3 separate regions of the Homo sapiens genome follow, and all the other regions are linked to region 1. Evidence: promoter capture Hi-C in 16 types of primary human blood cells and fetal thymus (Javierre and others, 2016). All regions are on one chromosome and are shown on one strand. The core of a region is centred on a gene start or on the middle of the fragment in contact, and the rest is flanking DNA. Distances in the headings are between cores, read along the strand shown. Region 1 holds the start of GNB1 (G protein subunit beta 1). Region 2 holds the start of MIB2 (MIB E3 ubiquitin protein ligase 2). Region 3 holds the start of SSU72 (SSU72 homolog, RNA polymerase II CTD phosphatase).

The links. Contacts are between HindIII fragments. The CHiCAGO score rates a contact against its expected background, and 5 or more counts as called.
Region 2: a contact is called between the fragment with the promoter of MIB2 here and the fragment with the promoter of GNB1 in region 1, in 1 of 17 cell types (neutrophils). The highest score is 6.3, in neutrophils.
Region 3: a contact is called between the fragment with the promoter of SSU72 here and the fragment with the promoter of GNB1 in region 1, in 1 of 17 cell types (total CD4 T cells). The highest score is 5.1, in total CD4 T cells.

The regions. Positions count from the first base shown.
Region 1 is chr1:1,888,989-1,892,882 of GRCh38, reverse strand. It overlaps GNB1 (G protein subunit beta 1), which reads left to right and starts at 1,796. Exons shown (of 12, transcript NM_002074.5): 1 at 1,796-2,063. GNB1-DT (GNB1 divergent transcript) reads right to left here and starts at 1,703. Exons shown (of 2, transcript NR_168264.1): 1 at 1,500-1,703; 2 at 157-983. RefSeq lists silencers at 1,012-1,261, 1,322-1,421, 1,542-1,731, 2,292-2,481 and an enhancer at 3,784-3,894. The HindIII fragment of the contact is 9,511 bases long and covers 1-3,369 here.
Region 2 is chr1:1,613,692-1,617,322 of GRCh38, reverse strand. MIB2 (MIB E3 ubiquitin protein ligase 2) reads right to left here and starts at 1,823. Exons shown (of 20, transcript NM_001170687.4): 1 at 1,690-1,823; 2 at 709-815. RefSeq lists silencers at 889-978, 1,009-2,058 and an enhancer at 2,159-2,328. The HindIII fragment of the contact is 6,747 bases long and covers 1-3,631 here.
Region 3 is chr1:1,573,581-1,577,435 of GRCh38, reverse strand. It overlaps SSU72 (SSU72 homolog, RNA polymerase II CTD phosphatase), which reads left to right and starts at 2,573. Exons shown (of 5, transcript NM_014188.3): 1 at 2,573-2,958. The coding sequence starts at 2,879. It overlaps SSU72-AS1 (SSU72 antisense RNA 1), which reads right to left and starts at 2,489. Exons shown (of 1, transcript NR_197593.1): 1 at 365-2,489. RefSeq lists enhancers at 1-382, 2,300-2,369, 2,380-2,489 and silencers at 781-950, 2,610-2,769, 3,010-3,089. The HindIII fragment of the contact is 11,232 bases long and covers 1-3,855 here.

The DNA of each region.
Region 1 (3,894 bases), core at 547-3,046:
GAAGCAAGGATGAGAGACTGGTTACACAGGAGATAATCAGAGCCAGGTTCCTCACTCCCAAAGCAGGAGGCCCCTCATTCCGAACAGGTTGAGCCCTGTAGTGTTGGCCTGGCATCAGAGTAAACACGTGGTGCCCAAGAAAAACAGACAAACACGCCCATGAAACTGTGTGTATACATATGCGTGTGGGCATGTACATAGATGTGTTCCCTTGCTCCGCCAGCTGCAATGACACCCCAGTAGCAATGAGCACATCCGGAGCCAGATCCCGGGCTCTGCATGACATTCTCCCACAATGAACCAGGCTGCAGCAGAAATAGCTGGGTTCAGGCTGGGGCAGGGAGAATACAACAGGGCCCTGGAGCATCTCGTGCCAGAAAGAAAGGGCTCCAGAAATGATGCGGACAGGTGAAGTGGGAGGGAGAGAGAAGGGTGGCAAGGCGTGGGTTCCCTGTCTGGTGGAGGCTCCCCTAGGTAGGGGGAAGCGCGTGGCACGGAGGGCAGGTGGCGGACGCATCTGGAAGCCGCACTTACTGTGTGTCCACTTTCTCACACAAGCACCATGCACACAAAACAAGAAGGAAAACGTCAGCTGAGAGAGGCGGGTGGTGTCCCAGGGTGTGGAGAGAGTAGAAGGTGGGAAATAGGTGTTGGAGGTGGCATGGCCCCTTGAGGTTGTGGCCCTGGTTGAGGGGAGGCCCAGTGGATGAGGTTGGGTCTCTCTCCCCTTCAGCTGTGCTGGTGCAGGCCTGGAGGAAAACGGACGCCAGGTTTGGTGTGGAAGGGGAGCTCGGAGGCGATGAAGGCCCAGGCAGGTGGAAGGTGGTGGTTGAGGACCGGGGAGCAGGGCGCTGGCTGGGGAGAGGCAGAGTGAAGAAGCCGAGGGTGAGGGGCAGCCGGAACTCAGCTGGAAAGACAGCAGGAGGCGGTGGGCGCAGGGGCGGGTTCCATGGACGTTCTGGAGGCTTCTGAGGACACCAAGCCTGGAAGCCAGGACATGTGGCCTTCTTGACTTCGTTCCCCTTCCTCACCTGGAGGTCTCCAGTCCCCGCTGTCCACTGCTCAGCGGCATGGGAGGAGTCCGCGGCCTTACCCCGACACTCCCGCCCACCGGCCCCCGCCCCTGCCAGGCGGCCCTGCTCGCAGCAGCGCGAGGAGCCACGGGGTGCTGCCCTCCTCCGCAGCCCGAGGCCCACTTCACACGCACTGAGCCCAAGCGCGAGTCTCTGCCCGTCAGCCGCGTCTGAGCTCGCCGCAGTCCCTGCTTGAGAGGCCGGGGGGCACCTGCGCCTGCCCGGGACCCTGACCTGCTAGCGGGGCCTGTTGCCTCCTCTGCAGGAAGCGATCTCGCCCGCGGTGCCCCCACCCGCCCCGTCCCCGGAGGGACCGCCCCCGCCCGCGGCCTTCCCGCCCCTGCCCTGTCGCTTGAGTGCCCCCCGCCCGCCGTTACCCCACCCCCGCCCCTGGAGGAGCCCCCGCCCACGGTTACCCAACCTTACCCTGTCCCCGGAGGGCTCCACGCCCGCGTTCCCCCCGCCCCATCCCAACTCCGAGGGTCCACTGCCCCGGTCCCCATCCCGCCCGGTCCCCGCAGGGCCGGGCCGCCGGGGGTCTCCCGGGGCAGCGGTACCCGAAGGCAGCAGCACGGCCCCTTTAAGCCGCTCGGACACGCGCTCGGGGCCCGATGCGGTTTGGACGCGCACAGGCGTGCGCGTGCCCGTCGGGCCTGGCGAGCGCGCGCGACGCGCGGCGTGCGTGGTGACGCGAGCGCGTGGGGTTTTCCGAGGCTGCGGGCAGGGGCCCGCCGCGCCCATCCCGATGGCTGGAGGCGTCTGAGGGGCGGACGGAGGCGGCGGCGGCGGCGGCGGGAGCGGGAGCGGGCGGCGAGTGGGGAGCGGGGCCGGGAGTGGAGCAGCCGCCGCGGCGGGACTGGACCGAGCCTCGCCGGCGCGCACCTGCCCGCAGCGCCCGCGGAGCGCGCAGCGCGGCCCGAGCGCGACGACCTGCCGAGCGGCGGCCGAGGCGGCGGTGTGGGCGCGTCAGGCCGCGACGAGGGCGCTGAGGTGAGCGCGGCAGCCCCCAGCCCCGGACCCGGGTCCTGTTCGTCCACCCGCCCGCCCTGGGGGCGCCCGCCCCGCCCCCACCCCACCCGCCGGTCGGGGCCGCGTCTTCCTGCCCCGCCCGGGTGCGGCGGGCGGCGTCCGAAGGGGGGGCCGGGGGCTGGGGTCCGAGGTTCGGGGTGCAGGGTCGGGGTCGAGGGCGGGGTCTAGGGAGAGGAGCCGGGGTCCCAGGCCCAAGGCTGGGGGCCGAGTTTCGGCACCGGGGTGCGGGGTTGTGTGCGCCGCGGGCGCTTCCCGTGGCGGCGGCCGGGGCCCCGGGGGCGCGGGTCGGGCGGGGCCGGGCCCTGCGTGGGGAGCCGGACGTGGCTCTCGGGCCCGCGGCGCGAGAACAAAGGCCGGGCGGGCCTGCAGGCGGGGCGGTGTCGGCGGCCGGAGCCCCCGCGCGGGCCGCCTATCGGGGTGACTTTGAGGGCCGGGCGGCCGCGGGGCGCGAGCGTGGGGAAGGGGAACAATGAAATGGGGAAGCCGGGCCGCGCGCCGCGGTCGGAGTAGGGATTTAAAGCGGAAGCCGGGCGCGGCGTCGGGAAATGGGAAAATAACGGTTTCGGCCCTTTTCGCTGTGTCGAGCCGCTGAGGCAGTCGCGCTGTGGCCTCGCCCTTCTCCTGCCGAGGCCCGGGTCTGTCCGGCGCTGGCGCCCCGCGCGTGTCGACTCGAGGGTTGCGCGGACCCCGGCCCGGCCCCGCGAATGAATGGGCCCGGTGGCCGCGCCAAGATGGCGCTCCCACCGCTGCCTTTGTGGGGCGGCCGCCGCCGCGCCGAGTTTCGGGGCCCGGTTTGCGATATTCCGAAGGCCCGAAGGTGGGGGAGAGGACAGGAAATAGCACAAAGGCTGGGTGTCTTCCTCTTGCCTGGATCGGCTTTTCGGCTGGAAGCGGGGTGGGGGTGGGGAGTGGGGAGATCTGTTGAAAATTCCACAGGGCTGTCGGCTGAGGCTTTTGACTTTTAAGAACCTGCTATATTTTTTCTTGTGAATCGATAGTTGATTCAAATGATATTTTAACATTTCTTGTGTCCGTTAAATTACATGGTTAGCATGCAGAAGCAGTATCAGCTTTTGTTTGCTTAATTCATCTTCATGGAAGCCTTTTTTTTTTTTTTTTTTAAGAGATGGGATCTCTTTGTAAAAGAGATCCTGTTAACCAGGCTGGTCTCGAACTCTGGGGCTCAAGCGATCCTCCCGCCTCAGCCTCCCAAAGTGCTGGGATTAGCGGCCTTAGCCACCGTGCCCAGCCTGTCTTCATGGAAGCTTTTTCTTAAGATTGTGAAATGGGCTCCTGAAGGAAAACGCCGATGTTAAAATTTGTGTTTTGAAAAGGGAGTTGGTGTACATTTACAGTTAGGGTGTACAGTACTGGACTTATGGGTAAATAGTGTAGAAATGGTAACCTATGGTTTTCTTTTGGGGAGCATTGGTTCATTGTATTTTCATGTTGCTATCTATCTGATAACATTAGTCTCAAATAGTATTAGGTGATTAAGCAGTTGCTGGTGAGATTATTAATTAAGAAAATATGAAGATTATTTTTCATGATTAGCAAATGGACGTATTAGTTTTGTGGAAAGTTTCAGTGAACTGCATACTGAATAAGGTCTTTGGAGCAAGCATTGTTATTGATAAGGTTTTTGCATAAGTTATTTTCTAATCTGAAGTGATAGTCTTTTGGGAGAGGGAGGAGCTCTTTATTGAAAGTAAGGTTTTAATTTTCATGCTATTGACATGCATAGTCTATTCTGGATTCTTTGGGAAGGTATGTATATCAAGAAAGTGGATAG
Region 2 (3,631 bases), core at 574-3,073, 280 kb after region 1:
TTAGCGAGAAAGTTAGCAAATTGCCTTTATTCAGAAGAAGCAAGTTACATGGAACTGGACATGAGGCTGCCCTCCTCCTTGCACCTCCAGCTGTGCCTAATGACACCGAAATGCCGCTGTGTGTGGCACGCCACAGGCCATGGAGTAGCTCCAGCTAACGCAGATGGACATCCCAGGTGCCCCAGGGAGATCAGGCCCACGGAGTGGGATGAAGCCCTGAGGCGGGGAGGCCAGCATGGAGACACCTGCTGAGGGAAAGCCCACGAGCGCTGCGGCCACCTCCAATCCTGCCCATCTGGGTGGAGACCTACAGGCACCCTGCAGGCTGGGGTGTCATCCCACTCACCGCCCAGGGCTGCCCTCGGCCAGGAGAGCGCCACATTCAGACACTTGTTGCATGTGAGGCAACAGGCCAGGGTGGAACCGGACAAAGGGGGCCTCCCGGGAAGGGCCAGGCTTGCCGGCGCTCCTGCGCTGCGGCCGCTCTGCCCCAATCCTGCAGGTGCCTATCAGAGGCCTGTCTGGCACCTCTGCTTTCTTCCTCCATGGGTTCCGAACTCAGAGAGGAGACGCGGGATTACTCACCACTCCCCTCCACTCGCATGCATGCTCAGACACAAACACAGCCTCTCTGACGTGGCTTCCACGGAGCCCCAAAGTGGGAGAGCCAAGTGCAAACTATCAGGCCGCGGACGATCAAGAGCTCACCTGTCCGGCCGTCCAGTCGCCCGCCGGGCCGCCTTGAGGCTCCTGGGCTGCAGCCCTGATGCCTGGAAACTTTGGGACTGGCCTCTAGCCTCGCTGGGCTTCCAACCCTGTGGCCGAGGGGAGATGCCAAGATGCACAGTTAGCACCTCGACCCGCGGCTCGGTCGCCTGTCTGCCCCCGGGGCTGCCCGCCGGCTCCAGGTCCACTCGGGCCCACGGCCGCGACACTCAGGGCCGCCGCCTGCCCGGATGGGCTCCCTGGGGTCTGAGCGCGCAGGAGCCGCCAGCGCCGGGCCCGTAATTGCGTGCGCCCGGGGTCTGGCGGCCGCGGCTCGCAGACGTCAGGAGGCTCCGGGACGCGCACGGGCGCCGGCGCAGGGGAACGGGCGGGCCAGGGGCGGGCACGGCGGGCACCCCCACCCGGAGCGCGCCCCGCCCCCTGTCATTCGTGCCCGTGGCTCGCGGAGGCCGCCCGGCCCTGTCCGCTGCCAGACCTTGCCAGGGCCGCGCAGTACCTGCCGACCCCAACTTGCCCGGACGTTTCCGTCCCGCCCGCTCCGCTCGGGGGCGCGGGACCGCCGGCCAGTCCGTCTGTCGGTCTGTCCCGGCGTTCGAGGCCACCCACCGGCCCCGACTGCTCAGCGGCGGCCAGGCCAGGCCAGAGCGCCTGCCGCGCGCCGCAGCCCACCCGGCCCGGACGACGACCCCAGCGCCGACCCCAGCGCCGCTGGCCCCGGGCCGCGCGAGGCCTGCCGGGAGCTGGAGTCCCGCGCGGGTGGCCGGACCACAACTCCCAGGAGGCCCCGCGGCGGCGCTGCGCGCGCAGCCCCAGCCCATCCCGTGCGGACCCTACGCCGAGTCCAGCCCGGGGCTGCTGGGCCAGCGGGAGCGGGAACCGGACGGCGCTCGCGTTCTGCCAGAGCGGAGAACGACTCGGGGACGGTGCGGAGGACCAGGGGAGGAGATCCGCGCCCGCACGCACCATCAGCCGAGAGGACGGCCCGCATCGCGCCAGTGACCTAGGAGCGACTCGGGGACGGCTTCGGGCTCCCAGGCCCTCCTGGGCCACCGGGCACTGAGGAGAGCGGCGGCTGGAAACTGTGGGACCCGAAGGGCGGGAGCCCAGGGCCCGCCCCCGCCGGAGCGCCCCCGCCATGGCCACGCCCCCGCCACGGGGATGGGCAGGGCAAGCACCGGAAGTGCGTCACGCGGGAGCGTCTGCGTCGCCTACCCTGCGTGGCGCAGCTAGGTTCCGAGCGGCTTAGCCTCCGGGCGCCTGCGCAGTGGCGGTCCTAGAGACGCACTCGGTTGCCATAGAGACGGGGGCTTGGGAGCGACGTCGCGCTCGCTGGCACTGGCGGCACTTGCCGCGCCGCAGCCACCTCTTTCCGACTCCACCAGTGCGGGCCCTATCCGGGGTTTTGAGTCACGCAGACCTGGACACAGCGAGAAACGGCAGTCCGGGCCCGTCCTCCCGCCCCGGGTTCTGCACCCCAGAGTTGGACGCTTGCTTCTCGCTTTCTCCTGAGAGAAGTCTCCGCGTTTCTGAACAATGCACTGCTAGTTTCTCATTTCTTTCTTTCTTTCTTTTTTTTTTTTTGGAGACGGAGCCTCGCCCTGTCGCCCAGGCTGGAGTGCAATGGCGCGATCTCGGCTCATTGCAACCTCCGCCTCCAGGGCTTAAACTATTCTCTTGCTTCAGCCTCCCGAGCAGCTGGGACTACAGGCATGCGCTACCACGCACAGCTAATTTTTGCATTTTTAGTCAAGACGGGGTTTCACCATTTTGGCCAGGCTGATTTCGAACTCCTGACCTCGTGATCTGCCCTCCTAGGGCTCCCAACGTGCTGGGATTATAGGCGTGAGCCACCGCGCCCGGCCTCTCATTTCTTAATTGTAGACATTGCGTACTTCCGGAGAAGGTCCCTGAGAACCTGGCTGATCTTCCCCGCTGCACCCCTCACGTGGTCCTGTTAGCTCCCAAACTGTCAACCTGAAAGGAAACCCAGAGGCAGGCTCTCCAGGACAAGTGAGTTAATCTGGGAATCGCAGGGGGTTGCAGCCTAGGCTGTTCGTGCCATGACAGATCATAGGCCTATCTGAGAGGGCCGGGCGAAGGGGAAAATACAGATGAGCTCACAAAAGTTGTTTTGTAACAAAAACCACTGGCTGTGGGCGCTTGCTGCAGGAGTGGGCGTTAGCTTGTTGTTGGAGAGAGCCTTACCAGGCCGACGTCCTTGTGCAAGCTGCTTATCTAGAATACTGCAGTCCTGAGGAATTTCCCTGCAGTAAGTCCGGTTACAGGCAAACGTGCAGGACGTGCAGGAGCGTCTTGTGAGGAGGCCTGCTGCAGGTATTCCTGCATGAGAGCTCCCCCTTCGTGGCCTCCCGACTCCATTTGTTTAGGGATTGGTGGAAGTAGTTCCATTTTGGTACCTGCAACTTTCACAGCTGTCGTGATGAAATCAGGCTTAGCTCTTCATGATTGAGTACCTGCTGTTCACTGCTACAGTATAAAACCATGCCACAATTCCTGTACAATCTTTTTTTTTCTTTTGAGTTAATAATTACCTAATATTTTCACATATCTAGCTTTTTACTAACCCATGGCCAGCCTTTTTTTCAAGTACCCCAACGTTTTCGCCACATGCCTAACGATACCGTTTTCCAAAGGCTCAAACACATCCGTTGTGTCTAACTGATTCTCCTGTTCCGACCTAGACCGATCACTTCCTGACCCGGCTGCACAGCTCTTATCTCGAGCTTTTCTCTGCTCTCATCCTTGAGACTCACTTTGTCTGTCTCCTTTCTTGGATTCCCTGTGTAAACGAAAAATAAAATCCTAAGCTCTCTACCAACTGTTTTTTGTTTTGTTTTGTATTTGAGACAGGGTCTTGCTCTGTTGCCCAGGCTGGAGTGCAGTG
Region 3 (3,855 bases), core at 1,324-3,823, 320 kb after region 1:
GATGCAGCTGCTCCCAGGAGGGTGGGGCTCCTGTCCTGCCAACTTGGAAGGGGGCAGGGCTCCCACATGCTCAGTGGAGCACAGAGTCCCAGCTGAGCCTCCCCTGCTGTAGCCAGCATCTTCCCAGCAGCCACTCAAGAGAGGCTGCCACTGCCATCAATGGTATAACTGACATTTCACAATCAATAGCTTCTGCTGGTAACTTCACAAAAACCTGACCTAAGAGATCTTTAGTACCTATTGGTTAAATAAGGTATTAAATAAGTATGTCAATACTATATGCTGTATGTGGGTAAATTCCTCTGGAACACTGAGATCCATTTACACACAGAAAGAAAACAGGCACATGGTTACAAGTCTCGTGTAATTTCTATGGCCATTTTATTTATTCAATTGGCTTCCTTTAATCTCTATTTTTCTATTTTTGTTTTCTAATTTTTTTCTTTTTAATTGCTTTCCTTTAAGCCTAGGTTCATGGGTCAAAACCAATATGCAAACTGGGATAGTCATATTATTATTGATTTTACCTTGTATTTTCCCCTTTTAAACTTATTCATTGCCATATTTTGCAAAAGGACAATTTCTTTTTTTTTATTTTTTTGAGATGGAATCTCACTCTGTTGCCAGGGTGAACTGCATAGGCACAATCTCAGCTCATAGCAACCTCCGCCTCCTGGGTTTAGGTGATTCTCCTGCCTCAGCCTCCTGAGTAGCTGGGACTACAAGTGCGCACCACTACATCCGGCTAACTTTTGTATTTGTAGTGGAGACAGGGTTTCACCATGTCGGCCAGGATGGTCTCGATCTCTTGACCTCGTGTTCCACCCGCCTCGGCCTCCCAAAGTGCTGGGATTACGGACGTGAGCCACCGCGCCCGGCTACAAGTACAATTTCTAACAGAATAATGCTGACACAGCACTTTGAGATGATAGAAAGACTACAGAAGTGACAAAAGTTGAAGTTAATAATGGACTCCAGGTTAGACTTAGCCTGAGAGCCACACCCTTCAAACCTCCTTTGATGCTCAAATATGGTAAAAAAGGGTTTTGACAATGACTCCCAGCAGCCACTCTCTCCAGTGTGGGACCAGACCAGCTATCTGGGACAAGTTCATCCCAGCACGGGGACTATCAAAACCTAATTACAGGATGACTCATTAGTGATGCATTTGGAGAAAGATCTCAATCAAAAGGGGAAAATACCCAAGTTGTCAAATAAAAGTGGACTCACTTATGTTTAAAAAATACCTTGACAAAGACAGCTGGGAAAGGCCATGGAGAATTCTCATGAATCAATAATAAGAAAAACTATCACAAGATTCTGCAAAAACCACAACCTTGCACTAAGGCAATCTTACACAAAAAATACTTCAGCAAGGACAGCTGCCCAGCAACTGCCTGTCCAACCCTGGAACGGGAGTACACTTGTTTTTTTTTTTTTTTAGACGGAGTCTGGCTCTGTCGCCCAGGCTGGAGGGCAGTGGCGCGATCTCGGCTCACTACAAGCTCCGCCTCCCGGGTTCACGCCATTCTCCTGCCTCAGCCTCCCGAGTAGCTGGGACTACAGGCGCCCGCCACCACGCCCGGCTAATTTTTTGTATTTTTAGTAGAGACGGGGTTTCACCGGGTTAGGCAGGACGGTCTGGATCTCCCGACCTCGTGATCCGCCCGCCTCGGCCTCCCAAAGTGCTGGGATTACAGGCGTGAGCCACCGCGCCCGGCCGGGAGTACACTTGTTACTGTTCTTTGTAGCCAAGGTTAATTATTTCCAAACCATTATCTTCCTCTTCATTTTTTCTTTAAAAACCATTACTTTCCTGAATGCGCAAATCGTTTACTATGGCACGCATATTCGCCAACGCCCTATTCCCAAATAAATATCATTTTCAGTTAGCCTGTTATTAGGTTGACAATCATTATCACTCCCTCTCCCGTCCGTGGCGCTCCCACGGCAAAACATCAGCCCACTGTCCACCGCGAGGCTGCATCCAGGCAGACAGGCATAGCTGGGGAATGACACACTCGCGTTGACTGGATTTACTGTAACTGGACCCAAATCTCAGACCAGCCGGCGGCCTCTCCAAGGAAGCCCGAGGCGAGGAAGATCCTAGTCGACGTGCACTCCCAACCAGGTCTGTCACAGGTCGGCCCTCGCATTTAAACGTTAAATGTTGAAGGGCTTTCATAAAAGAGCGATGTGCTCCTGCTTGTATGAGCCGGGGCCGGAGGCCGGTAACAGCGGCACGGGACGGGAGCGAGCCTCAGAATGCGGGAATGTCTGTGGGCCTCCGGGACAGTGGAGGGAGCGGGTCTAGTGAAGCGCGACGACTCTGGGGTGGCAGAAGTGAGGACTATGGGCCCCACGGGGACCGAGGGAACGCACAAAATCGTCCCAAGAGACGAAACGCCGGGCCGCGGAAGGGCCCTCAATGCTATCTCCGGCAAGCGCGGCGTTTCGCATCGCTCCCAAAGGCGGCGGCGACACCTTATGACGTCCTGTTGTTCCGCACGTCGTCGCGTCACACTAGGCGCCGGCGCGGGGTGCTGATGTCAGGACGCCGCCGCTTGGCGCCGTGACGCTCAGCCGGGCCTTGTGGAGTGCGGGTCTCTGCTGCGGACGCCGGGGGCCGGCGCGGCGTTGGCCGCCCCCGGCCTCGCCGAGTGCAGCGCGCCCGAAGGCCAGTGCCTGCGCTCCGTCCGCGGCCCGGCGCCCAGGGTGGGCGGGGAGGCCGCCGCGCAGTCGCCGCACGCTACACCGCCGGCGCCGTCGTTTCGCGTCGCCCGCTTCCGGCCACCGCGGCCGCCATTTTGTTCGCGCGGAAGCGCCGCGGTAGGGTGGGAACCCAAGCGGGAGAGCCGCGGGATTTGCGGCCGCCGCCATGCCGTCGTCCCCGCTGCGGGTGGCGGTGGTGTGCTCGAGCAACCAGAACCGGAGCATGGAGGCGCACAACATCCTCAGGTAGTTGGGCTCCACCCTGTCCCCGCGCGCTCTGCTCCGGCGACCGGCCCTCCCTCCTCCCCGGTTCCCCCTGGCCCGCGCCAGGACCCCTGAGAGGAAGCCGGGCCGGGCCGCGCTCGTGGGTCGGCTGGTTGGGATGGCAGCTGGACGGCAGCGCGCGTAGTCCACACGCGGGTGGGCATCACAGGGAAGGCAGGTTCCGGGACGAGGCGCCCGCTGTCCGGTGGTCCTTCGAGCTCTCCGAGGCCGGGCCCGGGGGGCGAGGGTAGCGTCCGCGGCGAGGGGCTGCGCGGCGGCGGCCGATCATGGTATTTCGTGTGCGTCGTTGGCCACCTTCCCTGGAAACGGCGCGCAACACAATCACGGCATACCACGATGTTGTAAATAACAAAGCGGTCTCTTTTTTTAATGCCATGGATTTGTGTGTTTGCTACTTCTTCTTCTTTTTTTTTTTTTGCGAAAGATCCTCTCTTCCTCCCTGGAACGCCTCCAACCGGTAGTTTCTGGAATACAACGTGGACTTGGTTTGGCTCTGCTAGTTTATATTCCCTGCTAACTGGCCGCCTGTGACTCTTGCGTAGCGTATGTCTAATGAAAGTTTATTCCTGCTTGATAACAAGTTTTTTGTTCAGTCACATAGCAAACTGAGAAACTGACCACTTGACTTACAGTTAAAATTTGGTATGTGTCAACTTTGATAGTAAGAAAGTTGAAATGGCTTTTTTACCTCCAAAGTTACCTACGTGAACTTTAAATGAAAACAGTGTTTCGCTTCTCTTCTCGCAGTCCAGCTATAACTTTCCTGAGCAACTTGGGAAAATTAACAGTCCCCCTTTTTTTTCCGTTTTTAACAGTGTCACGTGGGCCAGGCACGGTGGCTCACGCGTGTAGTCCCCG